Linked DNA regions of Homo sapiens: regions 1, 2 and 4 are each linked to region 3. Evidence: promoter capture Hi-C in 16 types of primary human blood cells and fetal thymus (Javierre and others, 2016). All regions are on one chromosome and are shown on one strand. Each heading gives the region's core, a stretch centred on a gene start or on the middle of the fragment in contact. The rest is flanking DNA. Distances are from core to core; before and after follow the strand shown. Region 1 overlaps MAST2 (microtubule associated serine/threonine kinase 2). Region 2 overlaps MAST2 (microtubule associated serine/threonine kinase 2). Region 3 holds the start of P3R3URF (PIK3R3 upstream open reading frame). Region 4 overlaps MAST2 (microtubule associated serine/threonine kinase 2).

The links. The method cuts DNA at HindIII sites, captures the fragments that hold promoters and counts their contacts. A CHiCAGO score of 5 or more calls a contact.
Region 1: a fragment that was not itself captured here is called in contact with the fragment with the promoter of P3R3URF in region 3 in 2 of 17 cell types (M2 macrophages and M0 macrophages); the score reaches 5.6 in M2 macrophages.
Region 2: a contact is called between a fragment that was not itself captured here and the fragment with the promoter of P3R3URF in region 3, in 1 of 17 cell types (M0 macrophages). The highest score is 5.3, in M0 macrophages.
Region 4: a fragment that was not itself captured here is called in contact with the fragment with the promoter of P3R3URF in region 3 in 2 of 17 cell types (M1 macrophages and M0 macrophages); the score reaches 5.5 in M1 macrophages.

Annotation. Positions count from the first base shown.
Region 1 is chr1:45,929,026-45,932,857 of GRCh38, forward strand. All of the region lies in intron 4 of MAST2 (microtubule associated serine/threonine kinase 2), which reads left to right. Among named protein-coding and RNA genes, the nearest start is that of MAST2, 130 kb to the left of the region's middle. The HindIII fragment of the contact is 1,725 bases long and covers 1,584-3,308 here.
Region 2 is chr1:45,994,397-45,998,314 of GRCh38, forward strand. It overlaps MAST2 (microtubule associated serine/threonine kinase 2), which reads left to right. Exons shown (of 29, transcript NM_015112.3): 6 at 3,328-3,403. Among named protein-coding and RNA genes, the nearest start is that of PIK3R3, 140 kb to the right of the region's middle. The HindIII fragment of the contact is 726 bases long and covers 1,988-2,713 here.
Region 3 is chr1:46,175,132-46,178,874 of GRCh38, forward strand. It overlaps P3R3URF (PIK3R3 upstream open reading frame), which reads right to left and starts at 1,357. Exons shown (of 2, transcript NM_001328655.2): 1 at 1,097-1,357; 2 at 355-498. The coding sequence starts at 1,340. The coding sequence ends at 455. It overlaps P3R3URF-PIK3R3 (P3R3URF-PIK3R3 readthrough), which reads right to left and starts at 1,357. Exons shown (of 10, transcript NM_001303427.2): 1 at 1,097-1,357. The coding sequence starts at 1,340. TSPAN1 (tetraspanin 1) reads left to right here. Exons shown (of 9, transcript NM_005727.4): 1 at 1-278. The HindIII fragment of the contact is 5,416 bases long and covers 428-3,743 here.
Region 4 is chr1:45,952,852-45,956,629 of GRCh38, forward strand. All of the region lies in intron 4 of MAST2 (microtubule associated serine/threonine kinase 2), which reads left to right. Among named protein-coding and RNA genes, the nearest start is that of MAST2, 150 kb to the left of the region's middle. The HindIII fragment of the contact is 5,257 bases long and covers 1-3,778 here.

The DNA of each region.
Region 1 (3,832 bases), core at 1,196-3,695, 250 kb before region 3:
ATACTTAACAGTTGGTTCAGTGTATATCTGTCAGGAGGCGGGTAATGTCAAGTCTCTCCCTTGTTTTGTTAGTAGTGGCCATTGATAATTATCACCTAGATTCATTATTTTCTTAGGAGTTTGCAAAAGATGATTCTCCTTCCCTTTATTAACTACAGTACTTACACAAAAGAATTTTCTCCTCATTATCTGTTTTTTTTTACCCTGAAGTACAGATAATTACCCTTATTCGCATTGACTCAGCTTAGACTCTTTCCTGAGTCTTCAGCCTAAAGCCTGAGTGTCCTCAGTTCCTTGGTCAGTGTTTCATACCTGCTTATTACTGCTTCGTTGTGAAGATTGTTTGCCCAGAGCAGCAGGGGGGGAGTTGTTGGTGGTGAAGCCCCTTGGAGTTTGCCATTTACATAGCTAACTGATTGCTCAGCTGAGGAAAACCTTGGCTTCCTCTTCTGGCCCACGTAGAAAGAGGAATTATCTGTAGTAGTCATGCTTGTTATGTAGACTCTGGGACTCTGAGAGGTGAGAATGCATCTAGAAGGCAGCAGCTTTTCTTTCATGTCCCTAGATGCCACAAGAGGAGGAGCCATTGCTGATCCTGATGGCCTCATTTTGGTAGATAGGATGGGCTTAGGGCTAGAGAGTCCTGCTGTTAAGAAACTAGCATACTGGAGTAGTCAGAGAAACGATTAATTTACAATAATAGATCCTTGACACAGAAGAATTAATTTTCATGGCTTTGTTTGTTAATATATACATATGTGTGTGTAAATAGATGGATTTTTTTTTTTGGAGGGCTATCTTCAGGATAAATTACTAGAACTGGGATAGCTGAGTCAAAAATTAAATGTATATGTAGTTTTATTAGATATTGTCCAGTTTCCCTTCACAGTCTATGGTTATACTATTTTACATTTCCATCAGCAGTTTAAGATAATGTCTATTTGCACACAGCCTTGCCAACAATATGATTGTCAAGCTTTTGAATTTTTGCTAATCTGAGAGCTAAAAAATGGTATCTCAATGTAGCCAAGTAAAAAGTCATATTAAAATATTCCTAAAGGATGAAGTTTGTTTTGAGGGGGGATGGAATTTCTCTGTCGCCCAGGCTGGAGTGCGCGATCTCAGCTCACTGCATCCTCCGCCTCCAGGTTTAAGCAATTCTCTGCCTCAGTCTCCCCAGTAGCTGAGATTACAGGCACCCACCACCACGCCTGGCTAATTTTTTTTGTATTTTTAGTAGAGACGGGGTTTCACCATCTTGGCCAGGCTGATCTTGAACTCCTGACCTCATGATCTACCCGCCTTGGCCTCCCAAAGTGCTGGGATTACAGATGTGAGCCACCGCGCCTGGCCTGTTTTTTGTTTTTTTTGTTTTGTTTTGTTTTGTTTTGTTTTGTTTTGTTTATCTTATGTGAAGGGAATCAGTTTCCTGTCCTGGGAAATTGAGATAGATGCATTCATTCATTCATTCATTCATACATTCAACTGCATACTAGGCCCTCTGAGCAGGAGAAGATGCCCACATAGGCAATAGAACACTTCGCAGCACGGGGTAGAGTAAAAGGGATGCTTTTTATTTCATAAGCTTTCAGCCTTATTCACCCCTATTCAGTCATTCCCAGAACTTTTCAAGTGATTTCTCTGGATGTTAGCAGAAATATTTTTTTAATGTCAAAATTCCAAGAATAGTTCAAAGAGCTTTTCACCCCCCAAACCAGGGGTCAGCAAAATAAACCCCATGAACCAAATGTGACCTGTGGGCTGTGTTTATACAAGCCACAAGCTAATAATGAAGTTTACATTTTTTAAGGGATATTTACAAAAAACAAGGAATATGTGACAGAGACCACATGTGACCTGCAAAGCCTAAAATACTTATTATCTGGCCTTTACAGAAAAAGTTTGACAGCCCTTGTCCTAACCCATACTGAATTAGCTCCTGATATGTTATCTCATCAGCCCTGAACACTTTAGTGTATACTTCCTACAGAGACATTTTCATAACAGTACAGCCATTAAAATCAGAAAATTAACATTAATAAATATTACCATCTAATCTACAAGTTTAATTCATATTTCACCAAATGTCCCAGTAATATCCTTTGTAACAGAAGGCTCCGATCCAGGATCATGTGTTAGAATTTTACTGTTATTCGTCTTCTATCTCCTTTAATCTGATGCAGTTTTGTAGTTATTTCCTCAACTTTTATAACCTCAATACTTTTGAAGATTACAGACCAGTTTATTTGATAGGATGTCCTTTAATTTGAATTTGTCTGTTATTTCCTCAGGATTAGAATCAGGTTATGAACCTTTGGCAGAAATATCACAAAAAGGTGGTATTGTGTTCTGTTTTTTTTTTTTTTTTTTTTTTGAGATAGAGTCTTGCTCTGTTGCCCAGGCTGGAATGCAGTGGCACAGTCACTACCTCCTGGGCTCAAGTGATCTTCCCACCCCAGCCTCTTTTGTTGTTTTTGTTTTTTTGAGAGTGTCTCGCTCTGTCACCCAGGCTGGAGTGCAGTGGCATGATCTGGGCTCACTGCAACCTCCACCTCCCGGGTTCAAGCGATTCTCCTGTCTCAGCATCCTGAGTAGCTGGGACTACAGGCGCCCGCCACCACACCTGGCTAATTTTTGTGTTTTTTTTTAGTAGAGACAGGACTTCACCATATTGGTGAAACTAGTCTCGAACTCCTGACCTCAGGTGATCCGCCCACCTCAGCCTCCCAAAGTGCTGGGATTACAGGTGTGAGCCACCATGCCCAGTCCCACCCCAGCCTCTTGAGGAGAGTAGCTGGAAATACAGGCATACACTACCATGCCTGGCTAAGTTTTAAAAAATTTTTTTAGAGACAGGGTCTTGCTGTGTTGCCTAGGCTGGTCTTGAACTCCTGGGTTCAGGTAATCCTCCTGCCTCGGCCTCCCAAAGGGCTGGGATTACAGGCGTGAGCTACTGCACCCAGCAATGTTGTGTTCTTCTCATTGTGTCCTGTTAGGTGATACAGGCTTTCGTTTTGTCCCATTACTATGAAGTTAACCTTGATCACTTTATTAACGTGGTGTTTTGCTGCTGTAAAGTTTTGCTGCTGTGAAGTTACTCTTTTTTTCCCTTTGTAATTAATAAGTATTTTATGGGAATGTTCTTAAAATTATGTAAGTACCCCATTCCTCATCAAATTTTAACCCTCTGTTTTTAGGATCCATTGATGTTCCTGGTTGCATTATTATACTATGCTGGTCACCAAATGGTATTTTTACAATTTCATAATTCTTTCTATACCCATCAGTTGGCATTTCACCATAGCAAAAGCTTTCACCTCTCCCTATTCATTTTTCACTTACTTTATTATACTGTATAAATTCAGTGGACTTTTGACTGGGCGCTGTGGCTCACACCTGTAATCCCAGCACTTTGAGGTGGGTGGATCACTTGAGGTCAGGAGTTCAAGACCAGCCTGGCCAACGTGGTGAAACCCTGTCTGTACTAAAAATGCAAAACTAGCCAGGCGTGGTGGCTCACGCCTGTAATCCCAGCTACATGGGAGGCTGAGGCACGAGAATCGCTTGAACCCAGGAGGCGGAGGTTGTAGTGAGCCAAGATCGCACCACTGCACTCTGGCCTGGGAGACAGAGTGAGACTCTGTCTTTCAACTGCCCCCTCCCCACTCCAAAAAAAATTTAGTGGATTTGTCTTATTTGATGGGTTATATAATCTGTTAATACCATTTTAGTTTTGATGCTCAAAATTGTATCATATCTGGTCAAGGGAAGTTTCTTCAGGCTGACTTTTGTGTCTTTTTGATGTCTCTGTCATTCTTTGAGAACTACGTAA
Region 2 (3,918 bases), core at 1,101-3,600, 180 kb before region 3:
CTGGCTCAGCCTCCCAAGTAGCTGGGATTACAGGCATGTGCCAGCACAGCCGGTTAATTTTTGTATTTTTAGTAGAGACGGGATTTTGCCACGTTGGCCAGGCTGGCCTTGAACCCCTAACCTCAGGCGATCTGCCTGCCTCGGCCTCCCAAAGTGCTAGGTGAGTGCTAGCACTCCCTGGTGCTAGGTGAGCCTCAAAGCCCCAACCCTCCAATTACATGGTTGGTCTTTCAGGTGTGGCCAGTCCCCATCCTGAGTTATATCATTAGCGTAAAGTATCAGGCCCTGTCATAAATAACAAAAGCACTCCTATCACTTGGGAAATTCCAAGGATTTACAGGCTCCTTCCCAGGAACTGGGTACTAAGGCCAGTCAAATTCTTTACTACACAACAGCTGGGTCTAGAATTCTAGGTTGGCAGGAGAATAGCCATATCTTCCATAATTTTTTTTTTTTTTTTGAGACAGAGTCTCGCTTTGTCACCCAGGCTGGAGTACAGTGGCACTGTCTCGGCTCACTGCAAGCTCCACCTCCTGGGTTCACGCCATTCTCCTGCCTCAGCCTTCCGAATATCTGGGACTACAGGCGCCCGCCACCACGCCCGGCTAATTTTTTTGTATTTTTTAGTAGAGACAGGGTTTCATTGTGTTAACCAGGATGGTCTCGATCTCCTGGCCTCGTGATCCGCCCACCTCAGCCTCCCAAAGTGCTGGGATTACGGGCGTGAGCCACCACGCCTGGCCCATATCTTCCATAATTTAAATATATTGCTCTGCTGTCTTCTTGCATTGTTTCCAACGAGAAATCTGCTATAATCCTTGTCTTTGTTCCTCTGTATAACATATCTTCTTCTCACTTTACTGAGCTCCACCAAGCTCTAGCCACTCTAAAGATTTTTCTCTGTATCTTGAGTTTTGAGCGATTTGACTGGGTATTCTTTGATGTACTTCTCTTCTTCTTTCTCATGTTTGGGATTCTTAGAGATTCTTAGATTTGTGATGTTACAAGAAAAACTTGGGACTGCAACGTCCCATCTAAACTGGGAAGGAGCCATGAGACCAAAGAATGACTCAGACAAATTTAACTTGATGAGTAGACGAGTTTATTCAACTTACATACAAGGCACTCCTGGACGGCAGCAGGACAGCTCTAGAGATCCACGCTGCCTCCTGTCTCTAAACCGCATTTTTTGTTTGTTTGTTTTTAGACATGGGGTGTTTTGCCATGTTGCTTAGGCTGGTCTCAGACTCCTGGACTCAAGTGATCGCCCTCCTCAGCCTCCCAAACTGGCATGACAGGCGTGAGCCACTGTACCCGGCTCCCTCTAAACTGCTTTTAAGCTAATTTTCTGGATCTTTGCCTACTGTGTTTGAACAATGATACTGTTTTTCTTGAGAGATTCTCAGATACTCTCTGGGATGTTTGGTTGGTTCTCAGGGATACCTGCTCCTCAGCTGGGTACCATTGCCATGGGCCTAGCCTTCAGGTTTCAGGCAGTGAACATATGTACCTTTAAGTAATCTGGTAAAGGACCCATCACACAACATGTGGGTATATGGTTTTTATCAAATTTGCAAAATGGTCCGCCATTATTTCTTCCTATCTTTTTTCTGTATCCCCTGCTCTCCCCTCCCCCTGCTTGAAGTTGTCCTACAGCTCAGTGGTGCTGTTTATTTAGTTTTTTTGCTGCTTTTTTTTCCCCTCTCGGTGTTAGCTATTTCTGACATACGTGTGTGTTATGTAACCCTAGCTGTACTATGCGCACCTGGAAGATTCTTTGTACCTCTGTAACCAGACCGATCCTTGGAAGGCTGGTCATTGTAGGATGCTCATGTCCAGGCATCTCCTTGAGGCTTTAGCTGGGTAGTTTTGGGAACCAACAAAGGGCATCTGACTTTGCATGTCAAGAATCAAACTGTGGGTATTTGTTAATCTTTGACATGAGATGACACTATCAAAAAAGAACAGAATTTTTTTTAAAAAAATAAGCTTTGATACTTCTGAGGAGGCCTGATCCTTATTAAGTCCTGGCTAAGGAAACAGCTACTCAGGATCACTTCCCTTATATCCTGGTGCCCACTAGCCAGAAGATGGGGAGAGGTCATAACAGATATCCCTGACACAGAGCATGGAAAACCCAGAGTTCATGCAATGTTGAGAGCAGATCCACTGGATGAAGTTGTATATTTTATGCACCTGGGGGTGAGAAGAACTGAAAATGCCTCTTATTATTTCAACCAAAAACAATGCCATTATATAATTGATACAGAGGTGCTGCTGCATAGGGTAGTAGGAGCACTGATTGAGAGGCTGGTTTCTACTAGATCAGTATAAAAAGACGTTAAGTGCTATATAAGCCCTATTGGATAGAGATAGTGGGAAACAAAGGGGTAGGTTTTTGGCAACTTGGAACATCCATACACTGTGCAGGAAACATACTATCCAAGAGAAAGCCAGCGCATGTTGAAGTACCAGGCCCCTGGGAGGTAAGCACAGAAGTGAGGAGGTGGACAGGGGTTAGAGGGGAGCCAGCACAGCATGGAGTATGGTGCTTACTTCAACATGGCCTTTTGAGTAGAGTCATATTAACAACTGCCAACAAGGGGCTCCTACGTACCAGTCCCCAGCTGGAAGATAGCCCAGAGAAGTATGGCAGGCTTAGGTTTAAGAACCATTGGGATTAATGCAAAGGTAAACTTACAGTTTTGTTCAAAGCTTCTGAGCTTTAAGTTAGCAAGTTACAGGGAACACGTGAATACTAATTAAGAAATGGCGGTATGCTTTGTAGACTTGGGGGCCTTGATTACGAACTATCTTAAGGTTTACTACTATCCTGAGTCCCTACCTGAGAACTTCTCTTTCCCCTTAAAACACACATGTTCCTGGTTTAGCCCTTGGATACAGTGCGCAGAGATATATATGCAAGAAACTTTTGGATTAGGGGTCCTGTTGCCCTTTGAGAAAGTGTGAACATTTGGCTATACCCTCTGACTGAATGAGCTCTTTAAGCCTTCTGAATGTTGGTTCACTTGACAAAGACAGATTGAAGTCTCAGGTGTGTTCCTAGGAGGGCAGGAAATAGTCAAGTTGCTGCTAGATCTAGAATGGTTATCTGAGAGACATGGGTTGTTACAGCAAACTTGGGAACAAGGGAGAAAACCTCTGGGCTATGAAACTTTTACAGAAAGAGACTCATTAAACTGATAGTGGCCCTGAGAAAATAACCATATAATTGCCAGTGCTAGGGGAATATTTCTTGCCCGAAAGTCATGTCCACCCTCCTCACAAGCAAACCTCACAGAGTTTTGTTTCTTTTCCCATCCACAGGTAACAGTCCTTTGGACAGCCCCCGGAATTTCTCTCCAAATGCACCTGCTCACTTTTCTTTTGTTCCTGCCCGTAGGTAAGTTGATAGGAAACCTCCTCTGGGACCAGCACATGTGGCACTTGCATGAGGGTTAATTGAATGTCAGATTCCTCCTTTAAGTGTCACTACTCTTTCAAGTGTATTACCTGAAGCTCCCATCCATCAAAACTCTGTCTTTGCTTTCCTCTCCTAGGTTGTAATGATCGTGTTCTGGTTTTGCTTTATAGGTGCCCCATGTATTTGTGTTTGAATGTTTAAACAGGAGAGTAGATATTAAGTAAAAGTAGATTTATTTGTATAATTCACTTTTTTTTTTAAGTCCCTGATGTCCTACGGGTATGTTCCAAAGCATTATACTCTCAATTTAGAACTGTCCTACAGTGATGAATGAGAAAATAAGCTCTCCTCCAGGAGGACCCAAAGTTATACTCTTTGTCCTCTCTAACTCAGCTAGTTTAAAGCAGCTGAAAGGGCTCTTTGTGCCTCTCTCCTTGACTTTGAGCTGGAGTTCGTTTGGGGGATAAAGACACTACAGGGACTTCACTTTTCCT
Region 3 (3,743 bases), core at 107-2,606:
CACACAGAGGCACATCCACCTCACATCCACCTCATACTTGTGTACTCTCAGGGTTCAGTCTTTCATCCTATCCCTCTCTGATCTGTGCCTCCCAATACCTTCCAAGATGTTTACAGAGACCCTTCTCCCTGTGCAGTTAGGAGTGTAAGGCAAGAGAGCCCCTACTTCATGGGGCAGATCAAGAGCTGAGACCAAAGATGGTCTATGTTGCTGACCTTGTCCTGTCCTCCTGCTGTCTTAAACTATGATCCCTGCTGCGGTCACTGAAGCCTTTCCCTGTAAGTATTCAGCCATAACCCTCCCCTCACGCCCTGCATAGTCAGCTGGTTAACACCTCTGTGTGGAATAAGGCAGTTTGAGCAGAATGACTGTATTTGTTGTTCACCACCCACACGGCCCCTAGGAGATGCAGGTCCAGGGCAAACCAAGCTTCTGGGCTAGCTTCTGGGCACTTCTAGAGGATCAGAAAAATCCCAGGTTGCCTGAGATGTCTGAGAACTGAGGAGAGGAAGGAGAGGGAAGAGTTTGAGGAAGGAAGCAGTTCTGGAAGTTCCCTGCCTCTTGGATTCAGCCCCTCCCCAAACCCTCTGCTTCCAGCCAATCCATCCTCCATTAAGGCTGTCAGCACTTTGGGGTGCCTGCCATCAGGAGTCCCCCATATATGTAGGGGTGCTATTTCACAGAGATCATCCTTTGGCGTGCCTAAACAGAACCAGGTAGGGAAATCTTCACTGGCTCTGGTTTTTTTTTTTTTTTCTTGAGACAGAGTCTAGCTCTGTCACCCAGGCTGGAGTGCAGTGGCGCGATCTTGGCTCACTGCAACCTCTGCCTCCCGGGTTCAAGCAATTCTCCTGCCTCAGCCTCCCAAGTAGCTGGGACTAAAGGCGTGTGCCACCACGCCCGGCTAATTTTTTTTTGTATTTTTAGTAGAGATGGGATTTCACCGTGTTAGCCAGGATGGTCTCGATCTCCTGACCTTGTGATCTGCCCGCCTTGGCCTCCCAAAGTGCCGGGATTACAGGCATGAGCCACCGCACCCAGCCTAGTGGCTCTGTTTTTTAAAACCCCACCCTGGCTCACAGGCCCCCTGGCTAACCTTGAGGTGGGAAGATCCACACTATGGTGGTGTCAGTGTGGGTGTTGTTGATACCCATGGCCCTGGTGGCAGGATTGATGGCTGCACTGCTGGCAGTTCGACCTCGGAGACCCTGTTGATATCTTCTGCGGCTACACTTGAACATCCTGGGAAATCGGGGCCTGGGCCAGCCCATACCTGGCCTGCGGTAGGGGGAACGCATGCCCTGGGGCCGAGGGCCACGGACAAGCCGAGATGGCCCCATGGGCACAGGGAGCTTCTGCAGTGTGCCTGGGGGGTGCTGTTGGCCAGGGTAGCTGAGGCCTCTATGACATACAAAGTCTGCATAAGGGCAGGGCCCTTTATTACAAGTCGTGGGCCCTGGCCCCTCCTCATGGGTCAGGCTCCTTCACAATCTTCTTTATTGGGTCTGGCCTAAAAGCCAGCCCAAGAGCCAGACAGCCTCAGTTTGGCCCCTTGGGAAAAGAGGCCCTAGAGGCGGAACTCACTTCCTCACTTTCTCACTTATCCATATAGTAACAATATTAACAATGTTTTTTGAGCACTTACTACGTGCCAGACACTGTGCTGAGCACTTTACCAACGTTATCTCATTTAATCTCAGCTACTTTACAAGGATATGCCATCATTATACCTATTTATATACAGTCAATTCTCATTATTCCCAGTAATGTTCTATAAAGTCGCCACAAACACTAAATACTGAACAAAGGGTAAATGCAAGGTTAGGTTCCTGAAACCCTCTGGTCACAATATTTTTGTCAACTGATCTATACATATAACCTGATTTTATGTGTGGAGACACCTTATTTAATATATATTGTTGGCCAGGCATGGTGGCTCAAGCCTGTAATCCCAGCACTTTGGGAGGCCGAGGTGGGCAGATCACCTGAGGTCAGGAGTTCAAGACTAGCCTGGTTAACATGGCAAAACCCCATCTCTACTAAAAATACAAAAATTAGCTGGGTGTGGTGGTGGGTGCCTGTAGTCCCAGCTACTCAGGAGGCTGAGACAGGAGAATAGCTTGAACCCAGGAGGTGGAGATTGCAGTGAGCCCAGATTGCACCATTGCACTCCAGCCTGGGCAACAAGAGTGAAACTCTGTCTCAAAAAAAAAAAAAATATATCTATCTATCTATCTATCTATCTATCTAACTATCTATCTATATTTGAGTCATTGACATTGAACTCACAGCCAACAGCATTATAACTTGTGCCTGAATGAAACTTATCTAAAGCACATATTTCCCCTATAAGGCACATCACAGCCTTCTTGCACTTAGAAAGACTAGAGAGCACTTCAGCACTACAACTGGGGACCATTTTAGACAGTAAAATCACCAGCAAAAAACACCAAAAAATGTGAGAATATGCGTCACTAAATAGACCACCAAAAAGCACATTTGTTTACTCTATGAAAACTGAAATAAGAAGACAGAGAGTCCTCTTGCTCAACAGACCTCAGCTGGAAATACGTGTGTTGGACGGCTGAAATTTTTTGCCTTTCTGCTCATGTCCATGAATGACTGCAAAAGTACCACAAGTACTGGTTTGGGAATTACAAATAAATTTCAGTAAGCAGGCAAATTCACAGGTATGGAATCTGTGAATAAGGAGGATCCACTGTATAAGGAAACTGGGGCTCAGTGAGGTGAAGTCACACAATTAGAGGCAGGCAGGAAGCAAATCCATGATGATCAAGATCCAAAACCCAGAGCACTTAACTCTCATTATTCTGCACTCATTCACTCAGGAAATGTTCACTGACAACTTCTTATGTGCCAAGCACCAGGGCCATAGATGAATGTAATCTGGTCCCAATTCTTCCTGAGAATGAAACAGAAAGGTTCCAGGTGCGGTGGCTCACGCCTGTAATCCCAGCACTTTGGGAGCCCGAGGTGGGTGGATGACTTGAGGTCAGGAGCTCGAGAGCAGCCTGGTCAACATGGTGAAACCCTGTCTCTACTAAAAATACAAAAATTAGCTGGGTGTGGTGGTGTGCACCTATAATACCAGCTACTCAGGAGGCTGAGGCAGGAGAATCGCTTGAAACTGGGAGGCGGAGGTTGCAGTGAGCCAAGATTGCGCCACTGCATTCCAGCCTGGGCAACAGAGTGAGATTCTGTCAAAAAAAAAAAAAATAGACCTTCTCCTTCTCCTTCCACTCCTCAGTCCCTTCTTCCTTTCCCCCTTACTCTGCTCCTCAAATGCCCCCTTCCCAACTTCATCCTCCTTTCTGTTTGTGGAGGACTCTGTGGCACCCTTAGTACCACCCTCACAAACCTCATCTTTCCCCCATCCCCTCCTCCAGCCTCTACTCTTGCCATCCTCAGTCTTAAAATATGACCTTGCTTCCACCAACTTCTAGCAACTGTAACTATAAACCGACCTGCCCCTGCTCCTCCTCTTCCTCAGGTCAGACCAAGGCCTCTTCCCTTGCTCTTTATGGAAGCCAGCCTTGTCTGCCTCTTTAGAGATTCCATCAGTGTAGACAGTCTGCTTGGTGGTTAAGATGTAGACTCTGGTGCCAGACTAACTGGGATTGAATCCTGGCTCTGCCACTTACAGGCTTTGTGATCATGGCAAGTACCTGACCCTTTGGTGCTTCTATTTCCCCATATTTAAAAATGGAGATCAGAAAGTCTAT
Region 4 (3,778 bases), core at 1,155-3,654, 220 kb before region 3:
CAGGATATATTTCAGAAACAAAGAAGAAATACATGAGATCCCAAGAGGGAATGTTAAGCAGTGAAATTAGAAAATACATGAGTAAATCTAAGCAAGCAATTATTGTATAAAATAATAATTACTAATTTGGCAATGTAAAAGTAAGATAGACCTGAAATAATAGATTGTAATAATAGGTAAGTTGAAAGGGAGTGGGAGGATTGGAGTTAAAAGCGATCTAGGATCTTTTAATTTTGTTCAGAAAGAGAGTTGAGGTGCTGGTTAACTTTAGACATTGTTGAGACAAGAACACCTATTAAACCTTGAATAATAACAACTACTTTAGGACAGAAAAAAACAAAACAATATGTAATTTCTAAACCAATAGAGCAGAGGTTAAAAAAAAAAACTTGATTAATTCAAGGAGAGTTGCCATCAGACTTGGAGGAAAACTTTACCTTAGAGCAAAGACTTTTCTCCTAGTTCCTCTGATGCCTGCTGCCCTTGCGGGGAATTCTGACTACCTGCTTCTGTGGAAATACATTCATTTGTTCAATAAACACTTGTCGAAAACCTCCTATGCCCTGTGTACTATTTCTAGGTGATTGGGATACCTCTTAGAGCTCACTCTAGAAAAGAAGAAACAGACAGTAAACATAGTTTATGTAGTATGTTAGAAGATGACAAATGCTATTGGGAAAAAAGGTAGACCAAAGGGGATTCAGGAAAACAGAAAATTGGGAAGGTGACATTAGAATAAAGCCTTGAAGGAGTGAGGGATTTTGCCATTGTGTAGTTGAAGGAAGGACATTGCAAGTAAAGGGAACAGTTAACGCTGGTCCTAGTAGCTAGAAGTGCCTGTGCAAAATTAGCAGCCTGTGGAAGGTTTTGAGCAGAGGAATGAAATAATCAGATGTGTGCTTTAAAAGAATCACTGTGGCTTGCTCATATTAAGAACAGATTAGGGTAGAAGACAAGAGTAAACCAGAGAGACTAGTTAGGAGGGTATTGAAATCCAGGTAAGCAATAAATAATATATCAATAATAATATAATGGATACGTAATAATATCTCCCTTTATTGGGGAGGGAATATGTATTTTTTTCCCACTCTCACTTCCCCATCTTAACCAGGACATCTTGGTTGTTACTCTGAAATATTATAGCATCTGGAAGTGCTTGACTGTAACCAGCTCCACATTCTTCTTTATATTGTTTACACTTACTGAAACAGAAGTGATCTTTTCCTCATTCTAAATTCTAAAAGGTGCCTGCCAAGTACTATCCAGTCACGGAGTGCTCAAGTTCCTAGGAGCAGCTAGACCTCTGAGATTTGGAGACTGGAGAGACCTAAGGGATCTGCAACCAGACATCTTATTCCATACCCTTTGTTGCTTCACAGTGGGAAGCAGGCTTCCTAAGTAAATTTACAGCAGCTCTTGCAGGGGTCAGATTTTCCGAGTGCCTGCTAGTTGCTGGAGGGAGGGGTTTTTGAAGGCTAGAAACGATCTACTACTCTCCAAATGTGGTTACAATTCAACATTGTCACAGAGAATGCACGATATGCCTTAGCCCTTGTTCTTGCTGTTGACTGAGATGACCATGGCGAGGTATGTAAGAAATTGAAATGCCAAGTCTCACTCCAAGTAGCCAAGTGACTGGGATGATTTAACACCAGTCTTTGCATGAGGTAGCTCCGGGGGCTTCCAGGCTACCACCCGTCCGCTGAGAGTTAGTGTACCCAACTCTGCAGATATCCAGTACTTCATCTTACTGGAATGAAAGAATTAAGACTTGCCCTTTATCTTCTTAGGATCCTGGGGAAATGGCCAGAGCCTGTTGAAATGGAAAAATTAGCCAGTTCCTTGTTGTGGATCTCAGCTGAGTCATGGTATCTGTAGCAGAGTGTCTGACCTTTTTTTCCCCTGGCAGCTGTTAAAGATTTGCCAAGTGAGATTATGTGTACCTTTATAAAAAGGCATGTGGCCTGGAAATACGATCTTTAGTGTTTTGGCTTTTATTTTAAATTTTAAATAAGGTTAAGGCAAATGAAGCTGGAATTAATTATCCGTCCCTGAAGTTTCAAGACATTTTCACTTTCAGACACAAGGATTTAGATATAACAGTTTGATTTACCTTTCATAGGCCAGGTATACATGTATCTTCTTTATTTTAATCCTTGTAACAAATCATACTCATCCATTCATTTAACAAATACTTATTGAGAGCCTACTGTGTGCCAGGCAGCGTTCTAGGTATTGAGGAGTGCAGCAGTACACAAAGCATACAAAAGCCCCTGCCCTCATACAGTTTAATTTCTGATGAGAAGAGAGACAACAAAATGAATGTGCAAAATATATACCATCATATATATATTGGGGATTAGTTCCAGGACCCACACGGATACCAAAATCTGCAGATGCCCAAGTCTCTTATATAAAAGAGCATACATAATATTCGCATATAACCTATACACATCTTCCTGTATACTTTAAATCATCTCTAGATTATTTATAATATCTAATACAAAGCAAATCCCTGCAAATAGCTGTTATACTATATTTTTAAAATTTATATTATTTTAAAAGTTTTAAAAAATATTTTCCACCCATAGTTGGTTGAATCCATGGATGTGGAACCCACATGCTGACTGTAGTGTGTTAGATGATGATAAGTGCTAGGAGAAAAATATATCAAGAAAGGGGGATAGAGAGTTTGGGAGGGTTTGCAATTTTAAATAGAATGATCGGGGAAAATTCACCCAGAAGATTGTACTTGAGCAAAGACCTGAAGGAAGAGGGGAGCAAGCCTTGAGGCAACCTGGGAGAAACATAGGCAAAGGAAATCCCAATTGTAAAGGCCCTGAGATGGGTGGCTCGCTTGGCATTTTCTAAGAAAGGCGAGGAGGCCGGTGTGGCTGGAGAGTGAGCAGGAGGGAGAGAGGTCATGGAGAATCCAGACCATATAATGCCTTGTAGGCCATCATCAGAACTGGCTTTTTCTCTCAGTGAGACAAGGAGAATTTTAAATGGAAGAGGGACATGATGTTGCTTACATTTTAAAATTTTTGTATAGTTTTATTGAGGTATGATTGGAATATAATAGATTGTATGACTGTGATAATGAACATGAAGATAATGAACAGATCTATAACTCTCAGAAGTTTCCTCATGACTATCTATAATCCATTCCTTGCTTCTCATTGGGCAACTACTAATCTGCAGTCTGTCACTATAGATTAGTTAGCATTTTCTATAATTTTATATAAATGGAATTGGATCAACTAAACAATTTGTCCTTGTGAGTCCCACCAGTGAAATTTCTTAATTGTGGTGGGTCAAATTCAAATTTTATTTTTTTAGTGGTTCTACTTTTGAGAAAATTTTTATTTCACCTCTCCCAATGGATAGATGTTTATTTCAAGATACATTGCAACCTATTGTCAACACTTCAAACCTGCCAATCATTGACTTCTTGAAGGAGTGTAATTTGTTATCTATGGCTCCTAAATGTTCCTCATATCACCAACCCTTACTGTGGGTGGTACAATGCCAGTATAATAAAGACAGCTATTCATGGAAATTTGTTCACTGCAATTGCCAATCAGCATGAGTCTGTCTTTGAAAGGATTATTTTTTCACAAAATCCAGCATTTCCCTGAATAAGTGGCTTCATCTTCCCTTGTTATGGTCTATGGAAGTCACAGAGAGAGCAACTACTGCTGTTACTGGAATTTCAGTCCATACTATGGTCAGTGTCCACAATTTCTGTCACAAAGTATGCAAGCATTACTTTGAACTA